Regions from separate parts of the Homo sapiens genome. Here all the other regions are linked to region 4. Evidence: promoter capture Hi-C in 16 types of primary human blood cells and fetal thymus (Javierre and others, 2016). All regions are on one chromosome and are shown on one strand. Each heading gives the region's core, a stretch centred on a gene start or on the middle of the fragment in contact. The rest is flanking DNA. Distances are from core to core; before and after follow the strand shown. Region 1 overlaps RNF20 (ring finger protein 20). Region 2 overlaps GRIN3A (glutamate ionotropic receptor NMDA type subunit 3A). Region 3 holds the start of TMEM245 (transmembrane protein 245). Region 4 holds the start of TMEM38B (transmembrane protein 38B).

What was found. Contacts are between HindIII fragments. The CHiCAGO score rates a contact against its expected background, and 5 or more counts as called.
Region 1: a fragment that was not itself captured here is called in contact with the fragment with the promoter of TMEM38B in region 4 in 1 of 17 cell types (total CD4 T cells); the score reaches 6.3 in total CD4 T cells.
Region 2: a fragment that was not itself captured here is called in contact with the fragment with the promoter of TMEM38B in region 4 in 1 of 17 cell types (naive CD8 T cells); the score reaches 5.8 in naive CD8 T cells.
Region 3: the fragment with the promoter of TMEM245 here is called in contact with the fragment with the promoter of TMEM38B in region 4 in 1 of 17 cell types (total CD4 T cells); the score reaches 7.6 in total CD4 T cells.

Annotation. Positions count from the first base shown.
Region 1 is chr9:101,560,086-101,562,785 of GRCh38, forward strand. It overlaps RNF20 (ring finger protein 20), which reads left to right. Exons shown (of 20, transcript NM_019592.7): 17 at 716-841; 18 at 1,005-1,145; 19 at 1,825-1,926; 20 at 2,161-2,700. The coding sequence ends at 2,337. Among named protein-coding and RNA genes, the nearest start is that of RNF20, 28 kb to the left of the region's middle. The HindIII fragment of the contact is 1,418 bases long and covers 546-1,963 here.
Region 2 is chr9:101,578,780-101,581,635 of GRCh38, forward strand. GRIN3A (glutamate ionotropic receptor NMDA type subunit 3A) reads right to left here. Exons shown (of 9, transcript NM_133445.3): 7 at 417-581. Among named protein-coding and RNA genes, the nearest start is that of PPP3R2, 15 kb to the right of the region's middle. The HindIII fragment of the contact is 3,086 bases long and covers 1-2,856 here.
Region 3 is chr9:109,118,556-109,121,293 of GRCh38, forward strand. It overlaps TMEM245 (transmembrane protein 245), which reads right to left and starts at 1,392. Exons shown (of 18, transcript NM_032012.4): 1 at 780-1,392. The coding sequence starts at 1,358. RefSeq lists silencers at 722-831, 1,182-1,351, 1,492-1,541 and an enhancer at 1,022-1,071. The HindIII fragment of the contact is 5,277 bases long and covers 250-2,738 here.
Region 4 is chr9:105,693,149-105,695,871 of GRCh38, forward strand. It overlaps TMEM38B (transmembrane protein 38B), which reads left to right and starts at 1,393. Exons shown (of 6, transcript NM_018112.3): 1 at 1,393-1,624. The coding sequence starts at 1,513. RefSeq lists a silencer at 1,227-1,496. The HindIII fragment of the contact is 6,405 bases long and covers 1-2,723 here.

The DNA.
Region 1 (2,700 bases), core at 5-2,504, 4.1 Mb before region 4:
TTTTGCTAGAGTTTTAATCATAAAAGGATGCTGGATTTTGTCAAATGCTTTTTCTGCATCTATTGAGATGATCATGTGATTTTTTAAAAATTCTGTTTATATGGTGTATCAGATTTATTGACTTGTGGATGTCAAACCATCCCTGTATCCCTGGTGTGAGACCCACTTGATCATGGTGGACTATCTTTTTGATATGCTTTTTGAAGGCAGTGTGAGAAACTGTTAGAATGGTTACCTCTACATATTGGGATGAGTTGTGGGTGAGGTTAGGAGGTGGGTGTTTGTGATTTTACTTTTTACACTTTAATATTGTTTGATTCTACTTTGTGCATTAATTTCAAAAAAGACTCTTTTAGAATGTCTAGCCATTCTGAAGGAAATACTCTTGGACTTTTGTTTGAGTTCTAATTTATATGTTATAGTATGAATTGCCAGGTTTTAAGCATTAGCATGCATTCTCTATTTTTGGCAATTTGGAAAAGAATCTTTTCAGTCATTTTTCAGACTCTTACTGAATCTTCCACAATATTTTATATTAAAAGTAAAGCTTTCAGTTATCATAGTCTTGATGTATTTTGAAGGGTTCATGGGCAAAATCAGTAATAGTTTGAGATTTCTAACATACTGTATTTTGTGGGCTTATAGATTAACAGAATAGTTTTTTTTCTTTTTTTAATCTTTTCATTTGTGTTAAAATCTGATTTTCTGTTCAAAGGTTGATGCCCAGCTACAGGTAGTAAGGAAACTGGAAGAGAAGGAGCATCTGTTACAGAGCAACATTGGCACAGGGGAGAAAGAGCTGGGTCTTAGGACCCAAGCCTTAGAGATGAATAAACGCAAGGTATGATTGATTAATCTAATGATGGTTAGTCTCAGTGGAACAAATAAGTATAACACTGTTGAGATTGTAAGTTCGCTTTATTCCTTCAACTTGGGCTAACATTTTGCCTCACTGGCAATAATAGGTGATACAATGGTGTCACTTATTTGTACATCCTACATAGGCAATGGAGGCAGCCCAGCTTGCAGATGACCTCAAAGCACAACTGGAGTTGGCTCAGAAGAAGCTACATGATTTTCAGGATGAGATCGTGGAGAACAGTGTTACCAAAGAAAAGGACATGTTCAATTTCAAACGAGCCCAGGTAAAAGCAGTTGTCTTTTCTTGTCACCTTTTAGGTGTTTTCTGAGGTCGGAAGTGACCCATATCATGAAAGAATCATTAGTCCAATGTATGTCATTTCCTACTAGACTTGAGGAAGTTTGTTGAGGGAAGAGAGTAAGTCTGTTTTCTTCACTGCCATATCCTCAGACTCTTTTATGGTGCCTTGCACCTAGTAGGCACAAAATAAATATTTGTTAAATTAATGAATTAGTAAATTGTTAAAGAAGTAACAGCATAGCAGCAGTAGAGGATTTTCAAGTTCTTGTATAATGTCTCTATTTTTGTCATGCTAGCTGTTTCTCATGATGTCTTTCTGTCTTTATCCGTAAGTCTCTGAATTATTTTAAACCGTTCTACCTTCAGCTTAAAACTAATTACTATAAAACAAAATAGACTGTCCTCTAAACTCTTAGATGTGTTTTCACAGGACTGAATTGGTAATAGATGCAATTCTAATTTGGGGATATAATTATGGTTGCCTCTTCTGAAACAAAAGAAAATATCCTGCCATTTGCAGTTCTCTACATTTCTACAAGATAATTGACCATAAAAGGATAGAAAGTCCCCTCTTTTCACAACAGAAAACTCAAGTCTATTATTTTTCTCAAAAATGATAGATTTGGGTAAGTGTGTCTAATGGGTATGCTATCCTGCCACAGGAGGACATCTCTAGACTTCGCAGGAAGCTGGAGACCACAAAGAAACCAGACAATGTACCCAAGTGTGATGAGATTCTGATGGAAGAGATTAAGGATTACAAGGTTAGAAAAAATGCCTTAGTGATTAGTTTTTTGTCAAAGCTTTAAGTGGCCTAATAGACTGGGAGAATAATTTGCATGATAGTAACCAGAGAATGGTTTATTTTGGAGGTTGGGGGGAAATGATGCTCTTTTTTTAGTGCCTTGTGGGTTTTCTTCTTGGTTGTGTAGTATATGAGAGCCATTTGGATCATAAACTTTCATGGTTGTTCAAACTCTGACATCTTTTCTTTTTAGGCACGCTTGACCTGTCCGTGCTGTAACATGCGTAAAAAGGATGCTGTTCTTACTAAGTGTTTTCATGTCTTCTGCTTTGAGTGTGTGAAGACACGCTATGACACCCGCCAGCGCAAATGTCCCAAGTGTAATGCTGCTTTTGGTGCCAATGATTTTCATCGCATCTACATTGGTTGATCTAAGTCAAGAGAAGAAGAGGAGCTGGCTAGTCAGGAACTTATTCATTAACCACCAAACCTCTACCTCTTCTCTCCTTGACTGTCACCTGTAGGACAGTTTATCAGTCAACTACCTTTCCTCCAGACTTTACTTCCAGGCTCTCCTCTTCAGTAGCTGGATGACTTTAGCAGAAAGGACTGGTAAATACAAGCCTTGGGTTTCAGAATGAATTAGAAACAAATAACTCTTACTGTCTTCCCTCCCAGCTTTGTTTATTTTGTGCTTTTAGACTTTTCAGTGTTTTCTTTTTCCAGCCCACTGTATAAACTTGGATTGTCCATTCCTCCTGAAGAAATCAAGTTGGTATTTTTGATGTGGAAA
Region 2 (2,856 bases), core at 252-2,751, 4.1 Mb before region 4:
AGGGAAAAAGCAGAGAGAACAGGGGCAAGTGGGGTCACTTAAAGGGGACCAGGGACTTTAAACTCACGTAATAGGTTTCAATTTTGGCAAGAAAAGAACCTAGGAAATAAATCTTTCACACCATCTTTTCAGACTGTCACTATTAAGTGAAACCTGGTTAAAAAAGTTCTATTTCTTCTATTATGAACAACAGTGGAGGGTTATAGGAAAGGAAGGAGCACTGTGGGATGCCTTAATTTAAGGGAAAAGTGAATTAATGGGATAGAGAGAATTCCTTCTGCTCTAATGAGAGTGCCTACCCCACCCTCGTTATTGTGGTAACATAACTTAGTAGTCTGACATAGGGCTCTGGATCCTCCCATCCCTAGGAATTGTACAGTTTAAGAATATTGGAGCAAGACACCTGTGGCACTCACCTGGCTGGTGTGGAGCCAGTATTGCAGCTTGGATTTGTTTTTGATTCGTGGTAGCAGCAGCCTGTATACTATGTGCTCACCAATGGTGGTCAAAATGGACAGACCAAATCCAATGCACAGCAGCACAAAGAGCCCAGAGAAGTGTTTGATGCCCATTTGCAAAGTCTGTGACAGAATAGGAAAGAAAAGGCCATGAATACAATGATATACCTGGCCCAATGCTTGTGTACTCTTTGGTTTTCAGATGGATATTCATTTTTTCTGGACTCAAGGACAGCTGGAGACTATTTCTCCCTGTGTGTTCTGTGACCTTCATTATACATCATGAAAGAAATTCAGCCAGGGTTGGACTGAGGGCTGCCGAGGAGCACCCAATGCCTAGAGGGTGAGAAATAAAAATAAAATTAAAAGCTCTCCAACCGACTGAACGAACTTTCTCTTGTCCATGGGGACCCCGAAGAAACCTTAAAAACTGAGTTCCTGGCCTTGATTGGATGGGAGGTCTGTCATGCCTCAGTTGTCCCTTCCTTATTAACCTTTAGCCATAATTCATTCTTAAGAAGTAAGCAAAAGCTAGCTCTGGAAAACAAGAAACCGATAACTCATTGCTTTATCACCTTTAGCTAATCATCTAAGGCCATAACCAGATTCTCCCTCCCTCTTTGCAGTTTCAGTGTGACAGCTCACCAGTTTCCCAATGCACCCTTCCTAAAAAATGACCACAATCTCCAGATGGTTTTGGCCAACTTGTGGGGGATGCATAGTGAGGGTTTTCATGTCCTCTGCTTCACATTTGGACATCAGAAGACCAAAATCTCCACCCTCGGGTCATGCTAACACCACCATTTTTTGAACATGGGCCCAGGAAGAGGCATGAAGCTCAACTGCACATGTGCATGTATCTCTTTTCATAAATATTTATGACTCCTCCTATAGCTTACTCAATACGTATACTCAGCCACCCCACTCAGCATAAATTCCTGTTCCCTTTTACCCCTCCCTTGAAGTGCTTGCTCTCAGCTTCTGCTGAGGCTATGCTTCCCATTCTGCAGGATGGCTGGCCTGCTGGCTGCAACCCTTTATGAGAACTAAAGATCTCCTGGCCAAATTTATGAAGCTCATGATTCTTCAGTTGACAGGCGCTATTCGTATGTTAATCCACTGTGCAAATGGCCCCTGGAGTTGTGCCAAGGCCCTGGGTCTGGACCACCTTATGGTCTCTTAGAGATTGAGAGAGATAGAGATAGAGAATTGAAACAATTTAATATACCTGGTAGCTGTCAAGGAAAGAACGTCCCTCAGGGAAGAGAATGAGTAGATTTAAGGGGAAAAAGATGGTGAGTTCAGTAACTTTGGAATTTGGATCTGGTAGGGAACATGGAAATCATCTAGTTCATTTACAGAGGAGGAAAGTGAGACCAGAGAAGTGTAGTAAACCGAGCCAAGCCACAAAAAAGGCATAGAAGAGAAAGAGAAGGAACTTAATGATATTTATTGGTTGCTTACTTTCTGCCAAGTGTTTTACATTAAAATAGATATATAACGTCTATTTTATAACTAAGGAAAGTGGAGTTACTGCAACTTTTAAGTGGCAAAGTTGGTCTTTCAGTCCATTTCTGTTCAGCTCCAAAGCCTGGGCTCTTTCTGCTCTACTGCTATATACCAAAACAGCAGCAGTTATAGCAACAATAGTAGTTACAATAAATATCTGTGGCCAGCACTTTGCTAAGTGATTTGTGTAGATTAAGAAAACCCTCACATGTACTCTAAAACAGCCATTATTTAGCCATTGACATCAATGACAAGAGTCAATCCCGTAGAAGTAAAAATACATAATATATTGAGTTAATACTAGGTGCCAGGCACTCTTCTGCGTATCATGGGATAGAGATAGAAGGAAGTTATATCTTTCCTTTTAAACAGCTTGAGTCTAGGGAGAAAACAAACATATACCTCCATGATACATTTGATCCATGCTTCCTGGGATTTGTGGGGAAGCTGGTTCATGAGATAACATTTGAATAAGACAGGCAGGATGGGGAGGTTGGGTGGGGAAAGTGAACATACTAACCTGAGGGTAGCATAAACAAAGGAAAAAAGACATGACTTTCCTGGACAGTGGTATAGTGTTGTGAAACTGACTGCTGTGGCTGAAGGAAAAGTATACAAGGCATGAATAGTGCCATAGTTTGAATGTATATGTCCCTCTCAAACTCATATGTTTAAACCTAAACTCCAAGGGTTGGTATTAAGAGCCCTTATGAAGGGATGAGTGCCCTTATAAAAGGGCTTGAGGAAGCTAGCTAGTCCCTTTTGTTGCCCTTCCAGCCTTTCACCATGGGAGGACACATCATTTGTCCCCTGTGGAGGACAAGCAACAAGATGCCATCTTGGAAGCAGAGACTGGGCCCTTACTAAGACAATAAACTTGGTGGTGCTT
Region 3 (2,738 bases), core at 142-2,641, 3.4 Mb after region 4:
CTGGTTTTGTAAGAGTAAGCTCAGGTTAATCCAAGCATCACAAATCTACGTCTCTCCCCTTCACGCGGTCAGCTGCTTTACTCCAGGCGGGAGGAGGTGTGCTGTGGTACACCAGTCCCTGCACAACAAAAGCAGTTACCTAAAAGTAAAGCGTGGAGAGGAAGAAGCACAGGCAGCTCAGCACCCAGTGCCTTGCACAAATTATACAGGAATCACCTGAACTGAGAGGCAGCACCAGCCAGTGAAGCAAGCTTTGTTTTAGGACTTGTAAGAAATCTAAGACACCCAAACCCCTCTTTGTCCCTAAGTAGCCCTAGCCTGGTAAGAGGTCACCTTTCCTATCTGCAGGATGGCAAGTTGGCCTAGAATCTCTAAGGTCCCTTCCAGCTCTGACATTCAGATGCGCAGAACTGAGGGTGGCCGAAGCACCCCCGCCCTCTCCAACCAGAAGTAAAACCAAGCCCCACTGCCATGCTCTGAGGCCTCTCTCTGCAAAGCGAAATAACGATTCTCAATCCAGGGCACTGTCCCCCTAAGAGGGCCTATTAGGATTGAAACAAGGCGAAAAGCAGGGAGGCTGTTTCAAATCACGCCCGCCCCCTTTTTGGAAGAATGTCCGCCAAATTCCTGAGGTGTGAGAAGGAAAGCGGAGACGGACGGTCACTGCAGCACAGGTGTGGCCCCTCGTCGCCCCTGCACCGGGAGGAACAGCTGCAGGATTGCACCCCAGAGCGCCGGGACCACGGGCGGGGGACGGGGGCGGACTGCCGCTCACTCACCCACAGGCTGCTGAAGTAGTCCAGCCCGCGGCAGATGAGCGTGGCAGCGTGCACCAGCAGCACCTGCACGCCCAAGTAGCTGCCGAGGCAGTAGAGGCCGTACAGGAGCGGGCCGCCGGCGCCGAGCAGCAGGAGCAGGCGGCGGCGGCGCAGCGCCTGCTCGCCCAGGGCCTCGACGCCGTAGTCGACGAAGCAGAGCGGCAGGAGCAGCGCGGCCAGGACGATGGGCGTGTGCGCGCGGTGCAGGCGCTGCAGCCAGTGGCGGCCCAGGCGCGTCAGCGAGCTCTTGAAGGGGTGCAGAAAAGTGCCGCATAGCACGGCCCAGAGCAGCGGCCGCAGGAAGGCCTCCAGGATGAAGTAGACCAGCACCGCGGCGCCGCAGCACAGGCACACGAACAGCACGGCCCCGGTGTTGTAGAAGGCCTGCTTAATGGGCTTGTCGAAGCGCAGCGCCAGCGCCGCGGTCCGCGGGGTCTCCCCGCCACCGCCACTCGGCCCGACCGCGCGCGGGACCCGCGGCGCCGGCCCGGGAGAGCTCCGCAGGCTTGGCGCGTCCTTAGGGCCGCCGCCGTCGGCCATCGTTCCTCCGCCACAGCCGCCCCCGAGGGGCGGTAATGGGAGTCGGGCTAGAAACGCGGGCGGGAGGCAGGGCGGGAGGCGCGCGAGATTGTGGGAGTTGTAGTTCCCCGCTGGTTTACAGACCCACCAAGCGCTTGCAGGAAACTACAACTCCCGAAGGGGAAATGGGGAAAACGCCTCCGCCTCCTTGGTGTCCGCAAGGTCCTGCTAACAAGTTTGCAGGGTCTATATCTTCCTGGAGGGGGGGGGGGGGGGAAGCTCCTTTCACTCATTCGTTAATGTCAATTTCTCGCGAGGCGAGATCCCAAAAGGCGCCACATTCAGATATTAAAACCCAAGCTGCATACTAGAATACCGTGGGGGAGTACTTTTAAAGAACCAATGCCCCGATTCTGTTTTACTGATTTATTTAACAGATATTTTTAAAGTGTTTTCTTTGGTGTATCTGACAGGATTTTAAATAGAGATTACCATATAACAGGCCCTATTCTAAGTGGCTCACTCCTATTAACTCATTTAATCCTTAGAACAACCCTACAAAGAAGGTGTTATTATCCTCATTTTACCAACAGAAAAACTGAGACAGAGCCGTTAAGTACGCAGCCAGAGTCACACAGCTACCAAGTGGCACAGGCAAGATTCAAACTCAGGGATTCTGGCTCCAAAGGCTATACTTTTATCTACCATAGTATTTGGCCTGAGGAAAGAACTCTTGGCATTTTTCAAACGTTCCTCATAAGCCTGTAATTTGCAGCCGCTGTTGACAACTGTTTGTGCAGGTTTCGCTGTGGACGCAATCTAAACTCTTAAAAGAGTCGTAGATCAAAGTCTCAAACTGCCACTGTTTCTTTTTGAGACTTGATGTAATGTCAGTTAAGCCCCCAATCTCAAGTTTTCCTCTGTCACATGGCGATGATAATAATAATAGCTTTTGCTTTAGGGTTATTGTGTGGGGGAAGGGAAACTCTGGGGCGGTACAAGGTGCTTCTGTTCCCCTATTGGAAAAGTGCTGGGATCCAAGCCTGCTACCCATAAAATATCCCAATCAACATTTTGATTTAAAAAAAAAAAGAAAGCCTTGACTGAGTACTCAACATGTGATTGCTTCAAACCTTGCAAGTTGTCCCTTTCCTGTTTCAATAGTATTCCTATTAATTTCTACATAATTTTTGTTTCCCTTCTAAAGCAGACAAGACAGGTAACATAATCCACAGTTTGCAGATAAAGAAACTATTGCTTGATAGATTTGGAGACAAAGGGATTTAGTAAAGGAAGTAAAGGAAAAAGTAATTCCCTATCCATCTCGATTGTAAGTTTTAGGTCTCAGTATTTCAGATGGCCTTTGGAGTTTTATAACCAAAACGCAGGTTTAGTCGCTCA
Region 4 (2,723 bases), core at 143-2,642:
TCTAAAGACTTTTCTCTACGGGAAGTGCTTGCTTAGAAAACCACACGTGAAAAGTATTTGAACAAGTCTATTCTTTCTTGATAAGTAATGAAGTGTAGAGATTTACTACAATTTTCCTACGTTTTAAACACTTAGTGTTTAGGGCAGTATTTCTGACATCCAGCAAAATGCTGGTTACATAGTAGGCACGCAAAAAACATTTTGTTAAATGAATTAAAATTAATGAATACATATTCAGATAAAAAAAATTCTCCTTTTGCAGTGCATACACCCGTGAAGCTGTCACCTACCTAGCAGCTAATCACGTTTCTCCAATTTCCTGGTGCCAGCATAATCTGTTCACACATCAAATAAGTGTGCCAAGCTAGTTTTTTTTCTTACCCAAACCTATTCCTTCTTGTTTCCTATTTATCAGAATGCAACCACAATCCTCCTACTCACCCGTTCCTCATTTTATTTGACAAATGCTTCCTTTCCCGCCTGTACAGACTGACACTCACTGACGATATTCTGCTTCTACCCATGTTTCCCACAATTGGTCTCAATTTCTGCTGCCACAGCCTCCACTACCTTTTGCTTGGACCAGTGAATACCCTCTGATTTTCCGTTGTCAGTCGCTTCTCATCAATCTATTCTTAATCTTGTTGCTTCGTTGCACCTCTACTCCCTCACCTTCCACCAAACAACCCAGTTAGCGTAGAGATTAGGAGAAGAGATTCTGGCTCTGAGCTTAACATAGTGATTGATCAAGAATTTAACCTCTGGAGCCAAACTGCCTGGCTTTGTCTGCCATTCGAGGACTTTTCCCAACCTCATTTCTCACTTTGTAGTCAACCCAAAACACCTCCCTCCATCTCCCACCTAGCTTGTGTTTCTCACTTAACTTTTAAAGTCCAGCTCACATGTCACTTTACTCACTTCCCAGAATTGTAATCTTCGTTTCGAACTGCTCTCGCACGGCAGCTATACTTCTCAGTACCTGCTTTTGTACCATTATGTGCGTTTTTTCTCTTTTTATAAAAAATCTCTTTCAGGGAACGCATAGTTCTTGAGGTCAGGATATTATTGTTTTATTTTTATATCTCCAGTAAGTCACAGTGTGACTTGCACTGTGGTTGCTCGATAAATGTTAGGTGAATGACATCAATTTACAGAAATAAATCCAACTCTGAGCGTCTCCCCTTGAGGACCGTGTTTTGTTCATCTGCACGCTCTCCAGGTCCTGCACTGCGCCCAGGACCAAGAAGACGCTGGACCCTTACTAGGAGAACCGAGGCAAGAGCCGGCTGGAGCCGCGGGGAACCCGCTCGCCCCGCCCACCCGCCTAGCGCCGGTGAGCCTGCGGCTCCCGCGAAGCGCGGCCCCGCCCCCTCGGCGCCAGGGCGCACGCGCGGAGCTGGAGCCGGCGCGGAGGAGCGGGCGGCCGCGGCTGTGCCCTCTCCTACTCCTCACCGCGCGAGCGCGGGGAACCAGTAGCCGCGGCTGCTTCGGTTGCCGCGGTCGGTGGTCGTTATGGATTCTCCATGGGACGAGTTGGCTCTGGCCTTCTCCCGCACGTCCATGTTTCCCTTTTTTGACATCGCGCACTATCTAGTGTCAGTGATGGCGGTGAAACGTCAGCCGGGTGAGTGCGGGGCGCCGCGGGCCGGACCCCTCAGAGTGCTCCTGACGGCGAGGACCGTCTAAGTCGGGTGGGTCGGGTGGGTCGGGTGGGCGGCTGAGTGGCCGCTAGCCCAGACAGTTCGATGGTAGAGTTGGAGGGGCGCCAAGGGCCGGTTGGTCTGACTTACTGAGTGCAGATGGGGAAACAGCGTGGGGGAGGACGGAGGCTCTAGTACTCCTCAAAGGAGGCGTGACCTGGGGTCCGCGAGGCCGTAGCCTGGGCGAGCAGGGCCGACCTTGCCAACCGCCCGCAGAAGTCCCAGGACTGACAGAAGCTGCCGCAGCGTTTCGGAACCACAGATATCCGCGCCAGCCCAGGGCTTGGGCGGCCTCCTCGCGGTACCGCCACTCGCTCGCAGTGTCGCCACTCGCTCGCAGTGTCGCCACTCGCTCGCAGTGTTTGAAAGTCATGTGAGGAGACAGCAGGTTTCTGACTCAGTCTCTTGGAGTAATAGATGGTTGCGGACTACTCTCCAGTTATGAAAGTTGTACAAGCACTGAAACAAAAAGCCTCCTGTAGCCAGACCAGGATTCCCCTTCACGCAGTGTCCTAACACCCTGCCTAGCATGTGAGAAGCGAGTGCGTTCCCCTTTTCACAGTCACGACGGACACTGTACAAGCAAGAGTTACCTGGCGTAGTTTCACTATCTGCAGAATGGGGATATAGTCTTGAAACAGCATTTTGAGTTCTTTTAGCAATGCGATCAAGGGACAGTAGTTGTATTTTATTGGATTTTACACCAGGGTGCGTTTGCTCTAATACTGCTTTACTTTTGTAGTTATTCTACTGTGCTTTTAGTTGTATGGACCTCTTCTTTCTTTGAGGTCAGACATTTCTTTGCCTACTTTCTTTGTGTTCTTGCTGTCTTTCATCTGCCTTGCCCTACGGATAGTTGATGAGTGAGGTCTGGAGGATGATGCTGTATCTTTCTTATGGACTACTTACTGGTTTTAAAAAATCCTTAGACCTCAGAAATATTTTTCATTTATGTTGAAGTTTGTAGCTCAGTTTAAATCGTTGGTACAAATTTTGACCTGGATGAGGATGGTATTACTGCAT